Linked DNA regions of Homo sapiens: region 1 is linked to region 2. The links are contacts of gene promoters, found by promoter capture Hi-C in blood cells and fetal thymus (Javierre and others, 2016). All regions are on one chromosome and are shown on one strand. The core of a region is centred on a gene start or on the middle of the fragment in contact, and the rest is flanking DNA. Distances in the headings are between cores, read along the strand shown. Region 1 overlaps CAST (calpastatin). Region 2 holds the start of ARSK (arylsulfatase family member K).

Region 1 (4,147 bases), core at 1-2,500, 1.1 Mb after region 2:
AAACCACATCAATTTGCTTTGAGTCATTATTGGCCTAAGGTTCTTATCAAAATGTACCATGTACCTTATCTGCAAATATGGATAGCAGTAGTTCAGAGTTGACATCAAAATTCTCCTTCCAGACTCATGATTCTCTCAAGGAAACTCTGCTGGGTTACTTGGATGAAAGTAGTTTGAATCTATGCTTTTAACCCTGTTTTGTTTAGTCACAGTCTGATGTTTTTGCTAAAACCTCTCTTAGAATCCCATTTTGGTACTACCATGAAAACTTTTTGCTAGTAGGAACTTCCTAGAACCAGCTACATGCCTGTGATCAAGCTTTAGCTTTGCCCAAACCAGTGCTATTCAATAGAAACATAATGTGAGCCACGTCTGCAATTTCAGATTTCCAAGGAGCCACTTTAACAACAACATCACAACAAAAAGCAGGTGAAATTTGTGCTAATTGATATATTTTACTTAACCTACTATATCCCACATATTATTATTTCATCATGTAATCAGTGTATAAGCCATTGAGATATTTTACATTCTTTTTTATACTAATTCTTCAAAATCCAATGTATATTTACATTAACAGCACATCTCAATTCACACTTGCCACATTTCAAGAGTGTTCAGTAGCCACAAGCAGCTAGGGGCTATAGTAATGGACAGTATAGCGCTAGACCATGGACTCCTAAACTTTCTTTTTTTCCTTTGGTGATAGGTGGGTGGTCACAGACAATTTTGAGAATCAAATGGGATTTATGGACTGCTTTCCCACAACAAAATACATACAAACATACACAAAATGCAGTTTCCAATATAGCTTCAGGGAGTTCAGAGATTTCCAAAAGACCACCCATAAATCCCCCAAAGGTCCATGGAGCCAGTTTATAACACACACACACACACATACACACACACACACACATATACATACACACATACAAACATATACAATCCAATATACATATATGTGCATATTTATATATAATACACACATGCATGTATAATACATATGTAGACATCTAGATTTATGTGTGTATGTATCTACAGATATAAATACAGATGTCTGTCTGTATGTACACATGCATGTATAATACATATATAGACAGATTTATATGCATATATATCTACAGATATAAACACAGATATCGGTATATACACAGACATCTCAGAATACTTCAGGTAAATCCTATAATTAAAATATCTTTGTGGAATCCTTTAAGTACTGAAAAGGTTATAAATGATCTAACTTTCAAAATTTAGGCAGAATAAAATGAAATAATTAAAAGACATGTCTCAGATGTGTTCGTTTAACAGCATGCCACCTATAAAGCTAGTCAGTGAAACGTTGCAATGTATATTTCCACATTGAATGCCATCAATCCTATTGACTTTATCTTCTGAAAAATGTGGTTGTAGTAAACACACACACACACACACACACCACACAACTCTGCAGAGCTAAATTTGAAGAACATCTATGAGCTATGTAATGATCAAGCATGAACGAAGGTTAATTTGGCCCACACCAGTCATCACATTCCTGAATCATCAGTTGATTCTATTAGACTATGTTAATTAAAGGTGTTTCTTAGCCTAATTAGATCCATAGACCTAGTGACAGCATGATCAAGGAGCCCAGTCATTTGGGAGGCCCCATCATTGCTGCCAGCCTGGGAAGAATGTTGCAAGCCTTCCATGGCAGGACAGATCACTTGCTCACAGTGAATTTTAGAACTAAGGAAGGCAAATAACAGGGCCTGCAAAAAGGGCATAGACTTTAGGGTAATGGAAACATAGAGGTCAAATACAGCCTTTCTCTTTCAGCTGACAGTCTTTGAATTAGTTCGCGCCCCATTGTGTATAAGCCTTTTAAACCAAGAGTAGCATCTGATAATATCTTTCTTTAAATCAGTTTTGGCACTTCCCAGAAGGTTAATTATATTCTACAGGTGCCTTTTAAAGAATGCTATAGCCTTCTGGGGGTGGGAACAGTGGGGGGTCATGTGAGATTCCATGTGGATAGGTGGGTAATTAGTTCTGACTAGATTGTCTCAGCAGATACAAAACTACTCTAAGTAGTACATCATTTTTCCCCCTTGAGGTATTTTTAAGATGAAAATCATATTAACAGATACTAAAGTTCTGTTCTTTGAGTTGTCTCATTTTCCTTTCATGAAAACATACCCAGAAAGCTTTACAGCCACCATAAAGGCGGGGGGCAGGGGGAAGTATATCAGATGTCTTCCAGTTAAGAAAAATGCAAGAACAGTTCCATCCAATAAACACTGTTCATGTAAGTTATCTCCTCAGATGGAAAAGTCAGTTAACTCAGGAAGAAAAAGGTCTAAAGTTATAGTTTCCTAAAAATGTATGAAATTTGTTTTGGTTGTAGGAAACTCATAGAACATAAGAATAAATTTGGTAAAGCTCAAAGATGTTCACAGTTGTTTATTGTCCACCTGCTGTGTGTCAGTTTTGTGCAGAGTGCGGTGGACACAAAAAAATCGTGCAGTGGTCTGTGCCTGGCCTCCTCTTGCATTTCTCATAGATAAAACTACAAGTTCATTCTCATGACAACTGCTGTGGCAACAAAGCAACTATTTAAATTCTCATGATACCCCCTTTGACTTAAGAAAAACTCATCCAGCCTTACTTCAGGTGAATCCCAGGAGCTAATCTATGACAGGCAATAGATGCCACCTCTGAAAATTGGACACAAAGGGCCTGTACCTTTACAGTGTCATCTTGTCATGTCCACTGAAATCTTAAAATGTTAGAAAAAACGAACACTTGGGGTTCAGTGAAAACAGAGGGATTTCAGAATTACAGCTATGCAGTTAATCCTTAATATATATTAAGCATTAGTACACAGAATAAGAGAAGAGTATAATGAGGCTGGGTGCGGTTGGCTCACGCCTGTAATCCCAGCACTTTGGGAGGCTGAGGCGGATGGATCACAAGGTCAGGAGTTCAAGACCAGCCTGGCCAAGATGGTGAAACCCCATCTCTACTAAAAATACAAAAAAATTAGCTGGGCGTGGTGGCAGGCGCCTGTAATTCCAGCTACTCAGGAGGCTGAGGCAGGAGAATGGCGTGAACCCGCGAGGCGGAGCTTGCAGTAAGCCGAGATTGCACCACTGCACTCCAGCCCGGGCGACAGAGCAAGACTCCGTCTCAATAAATAAATGAATAAATAAATAAATAAGTATAATGACCTCTTCATATACCAATCATTGGTGTCAATAATTGTCAACATTGTCCTAATCTTGTTTTATCTGTTAACCGTCACAGCTACCAGCACAGACACGCGTGCACACACACACACACACACACACCCTTTCAACATGTTTTAAAGCATGGGAATTGCAAATATAAGTCATCCTTGTAACCAAATTGCTGTAGTTTGTTGGGAAAATGAATTCTTTAACCCCCATGTAGTTTATCTCCTTGAGTGTTATACGAAGATGTGAGAATAATATATAATACACAGTCATGAGATAGACAAAGTACTAAACAAAAACTTAATCAGATGAACCTGATAAGGTTCCTTTGTACTTTAGGGAAAGTAAAATACTAAATTCTTCTGTTCTAATGTTTACAGCCTTAGAAAATGAAACCCTCAAACCTTAACTCACTGGCTTCTAATTCACCACAGTCAGATTGCCAGGGAAAAAGAAGGGAGTGAAATAATTTTAATTGTGTTCTTAAAATGAACAAGGCAATGAACCAGGTGCCTCACTAATGTCAACTCTTTTCATAAATTTGCCAGCCCCTGGGATAGATACCATTAGCCCTATTTTACAAAAAGAAACTGAAAAATTAAATTATCTGCCCAAGGTCACGGTCATATAGCCTTACAAATCTAGGCTGTTTCTGCCCTATCAGAGTTTATTGCAGTCAACTAACAGACAGAAATGACTCTGAGTATTTAAAACAAAGGGAGTGTAACATAGGGAATTGGTTACCCAGGTAAAAAAAAAAAAGGCTGGGAAGCCGTCAGGGGAGGGTGAGGCAACCCAGAGATTAGAAATTGCAGGAAGCTGCTACCATCCCTAGTCTAGAGGGACACAGGGAGGACAAGGGTCACCTTGCAGAAGCTGGAACCACAGCCAACCCATCCTGCAGGAGGTGCTACTGGAGGAGGGGGTGGGGC
Region 2 (4,070 bases), core at 1,504-4,003:
TTATTTTTATTATCCTATATAGACATAATTCAATTATGTCTCCCAATTCAATAAATTCTTAGACGTAAGTCTTATATTTTCAGAGCTTCTTATATACCCAACACTTACTGGATAATACATATTCAATAAATAGCTAATGATCTTCCAGCTTCCAAGGCTTACCAGTGTTAACAAAAAAATGAGTGACTGAGGGAAGTGTCTCAATCAGTAGATGTTTATTGAGCCACACTTTGAGCACACGCCTGGGGAAAAACAAGCCACAGAAGCATCTGTGACCCACACTTTCCAAAGAGGGCTTTCGGAACTCAGTATTCTAGAGGAGAGCATGCAGGAGTGAAAAATGGCGGGAGGGAAGTAGGCAGTGAGGCAAATGGTTACATTCTCTTGAGTACCTTTTCTGATAGCATAGAATTACTGATTAGCAAAAATGTTGTACGTTCACAAAAGAGTAATCAAAACAATGAGGAAACCTGAAATTATGAGAACTAGCTGAAGAAACTGGGGACTAGGAAAAATAAATAAATGGTGGCGAGGGAGTTGGGGGAAGGACTGTTGAAAGGGAGAGATTATCCATGTAAAAGTGAAGAAAAATGCACTAATGAATGGTTAAAAATAGAGGAAGATTAACTTCAACTTAAAATAGGAACTTTTAATGAGACCTATATAAATGTGGAATGAGGTACTCAATGGAAGTGTTTCCCATCACTGGAGATGAAAAAGCACAGGCTGGACAATCCACTCAGCAGGAATGTTTTAGGATAAACTGAATGTCAGATGGGAAGTAGGACTAGAAGCCTCTTAGATTCTTCCAGCACAACGTCTCTAAGGCTCTAAAATATCTGTCTTGCTCCAAATCACTGCAGCACCTGCTCCTATTGACACTGCCAAGGGGAGAAAGAAGAAAAAGATGTATTCTTGTAAGCCTGTCATCAGAGTACATGTCCTGTGGAAACAAGGCTGTAGAGAGTAAGCACAGTTTATGGAATCAGACACAAAATTAAATATAACTTTTATGAATTTAAATGTCAGTCAATATTGTCACTATGGTAGAAAATACGTTCTACATTCCAAATTAACTCAAAACAAATTTGTTTTTATGAGAGAGCCCACTTGTATTACCTTCCGTGCTGTATTATTATTTCATGTATGCTTGGTTTTGCTTCCCTGAAATCTAAACTCATGTAAACTGAGACTATTGTTTAGGGGTTTTTTTGTTTTTGTTTTTTTTTTGAGATGGAGTTTTGCTCTTGTTGCCCAGGCGGAGTGCAAAGGTGCGATCTCAGCTCACTGCAACCTCCACCTCCTGGGTTCAAGTGATTCTCCTGCCTCAGCCTCCCTAGTAGCTGGGATTACAGGCGCCCGCCACCACGCCCAGTATTTTGCGTATTTTTCGTAGAGACGGGGTTTCACCATGCTGGCCAGGCTGGTCTCGAACCCCTAACCTTCGGTGATCCGCCCGTCTCGGCTTCCCAAAGTGCTGGGATTACAGGCGTGAGCCACCGCGCCCAACACTGTTTACGTTTTTGCATGCTCCCGCAGATCTTTATCATGCTGCTTGAGTAACAATTCTGCTACACTAACAGATAAACTAACTGCAGACAGAGCATTTAGTGAGTTACGGCACAGACTCTTCAATTTTCAGTCGTGCTCTGACTGGCTCCCTGTGTAAACTCAGGCCAGTCATTTAACCTCTCTAAGCCTGTTTTCCTATCTGCAATATGGTGAAAGTGAGGATTATAGAAAATATTCCATATAAAAGTACGTGGCACGCAGCAGATGCTCAGTAAATGCTTAGTATAACGCTCAGCACCTAAGTGCCATGTGAGTATTAAATAAACAAATCTGTTCCTTACTACAATTATCTTAGGCAAAAAAAAACCTGCCAGATATTAGTATTCAGTTGACTTAAGTAAGTAGTATAACTCCTCTTTTAACTGTCAGAATATTAAAACTACTAGTGTGATGTGCAAATTATATACCCGAAACTAGATACAGAAATTGGAATTTGGCTTTGGGACAGAAATCTGCTTCTTCCAGAACTCTCCAAAGGAATTCAACAGTCAAAAGAGACCGGTTTTTATTCTGCAGCAAAACAATGATATTCTGAACCTACGTCAACTAACTGAACATGTCACACAGCCCATTTCCCCCTCCAGTTTCGCTTATCTCCTTTGCTCTCTGAAGGCAAGGAACAGCTATGCTTTCCCCTGCCTACAGCCTGAAACTTCTTACTAGGCCCCGCTCCTCGCCCCATGGGAGCACAGTAAATCCTGACTGCACGGGGTAAGAGAAGCAATAAGATGAGACAGGCTAGAGATTTCCCTGGGAAGGTATTCGGGGGGGTCTAAGGCATTCACGGCGCACCTGAGGCGGTCCACCCAGAGGCCCCACAAGGCACCGCCCTATTCAACTTAAGTGACAGCCGCGCCGCCACCTCATCGCCGCCCAGTTCACGCTCTCGCCGAACACTCAGCCACGCTTGCGCGGCCCAAAATGAACAGCCCCGGCCCCGATCCTTTCTTTCTCTAAGTACCATTTCAATCGCCTTTAGGATCCCTTGTGCAAAACCGACAGAAATCCAAACCCACCTGGAGCAGATGCTCCTCTTCTACAAACGCCGAGGCTGCAATGAGAGCGCATGCGCCTTTCCCAGGACTCATTCACGTGACTGGAAGTGGCTGGGTTCTGATTTGCTCGGTATTTGATTAAAAGGTCTTAACGTGGGTAAAAGCGGGAATTTCTCTGTTGCGCATGTGCGCGCTCTCCGCCTGATAGGAGTTGTAGTTCTGCGGGTGAAGCTCGGCGTTACTATCAAGCAACCAAACTGCAAGCTTTGGGAGTTGTTCGCTGTCCCTGCCCTGCTCTGCTAGGGAGAGAACGCCAGAGGGAGGCGGCTGGCCCGGCGGCAGGCTCTCAGAACCGCTACCGGCGATGCTACTGCTGTGGGTGTCGGTGGTCGCAGCCTTGGCGCTGGCGGTACTGGCCCCCGGAGCAGGGGAGCAGAGGCGGAGAGCAGCCAAAGCGCCCAATGTGGTGCTGGTCGTGAGCGACTCCTTCGTAAGTACCGCGAGGCAGGGGAGGGGCGCCCCGCTGGGGATCGGCGACCTCACCGCCGCCGCCTGTGCTGCAGGCTTTGGGGAGCAGAACCTGAGACATTTTCAAACACCTTTTACCCCGATGCAAAGAAAGAAATACATTTTATGTGAGGCCCCGTGTACTCACACGTACACCACATACCTATGCAAACATGTAAAACAATAGTGAAACACTGAAAACATCTTTGCAGATCTTTTTTTTTTAATACTGACCTCGATTCGCTAAATTATTTTACCACGACTAATGAACTTTCAGTCCATACCCCCGTTTGGTTTAATTGTGTGGTAAAATAACATTCTGCATCTCCATAAAAGCGTGTTAGCTTTCCAAAAGTCATTTTCCAGTTCACCTCAAGTTTGCAGGAATTCATGTTTGGGTGAGAAGTGAAGAAAGTTTATTTTTATTACCCAGGTCTGTGATAATCCTGTTAGTGCTGATTCAAATGGAATCGTTGGTATAACTTGATTCACTCCCCCGTATTCCAGAGAAATTGTGTGTATGTGTGTGTGTTGGTAATGTGGCTGAATCCCAAACTTAAACAGTTTTTGAAACTTTCCCAAGCCAAAGGTGCTACTGTCAACCTTACGCGATGCTTTTAGGATGATCCATGTTTTAAAAAGTGCTGCTTAGACAATTGTTTGGTTATTAATTGTAATATTAGTTTATTATCACTCGGTGTTACTGTGGTCACACAGATGTTGGTGTTAAGCATATCTGGCACTAAAGAGTGTTTGTAATCATATGTTGTATTTCCTTTCTCGTAGATTCCTGATGATTAAAATTACATAGTCTGGATGTGCCCATGGGATTTTTTGAAAATATTACTTAAAGTTATCTTTGTGATTTAAACTTAGAGAATGGGCAGTACTGGAAATTGACTAGATGGCATTTTATTACAGAGTGCTCTTGTAATCAAAGGCAAATGAAGGAAGCAGGATTGTGCAGAGGAGAAGCTGAATTTTGTTGCCATCTTA

The links. The method cuts DNA at HindIII sites, captures the fragments that hold promoters and counts their contacts. A CHiCAGO score of 5 or more calls a contact.
Region 1: a fragment that was not itself captured here is called in contact with the fragment with the promoter of ARSK in region 2 in 1 of 17 cell types (non-activated CD4 T cells); the score reaches 5.9 in non-activated CD4 T cells.

Annotation. Positions count from the first base shown.
Region 1 is chr5:96,664,845-96,668,991 of GRCh38, forward strand. All of the region lies in intron 1 of CAST (calpastatin), which reads left to right. Among named protein-coding and RNA genes, the nearest start is that of CAST, 4.5 kb to the left of the region's middle. The HindIII fragment of the contact is 1,868 bases long and covers 317-2,184 here.
Region 2 is chr5:95,552,348-95,556,417 of GRCh38, forward strand. ARSK (arylsulfatase family member K) reads left to right here and starts at 2,754. Exons shown (of 8, transcript NM_198150.3): 1 at 2,754-3,057. The coding sequence starts at 2,932. It overlaps SKIC3 (SKI3 subunit of superkiller complex), which reads right to left and starts at 2,630. Exons shown (of 43, transcript NM_014639.4): 1 at 2,589-2,630. The HindIII fragment of the contact is 6,579 bases long and covers 1-2,829 here.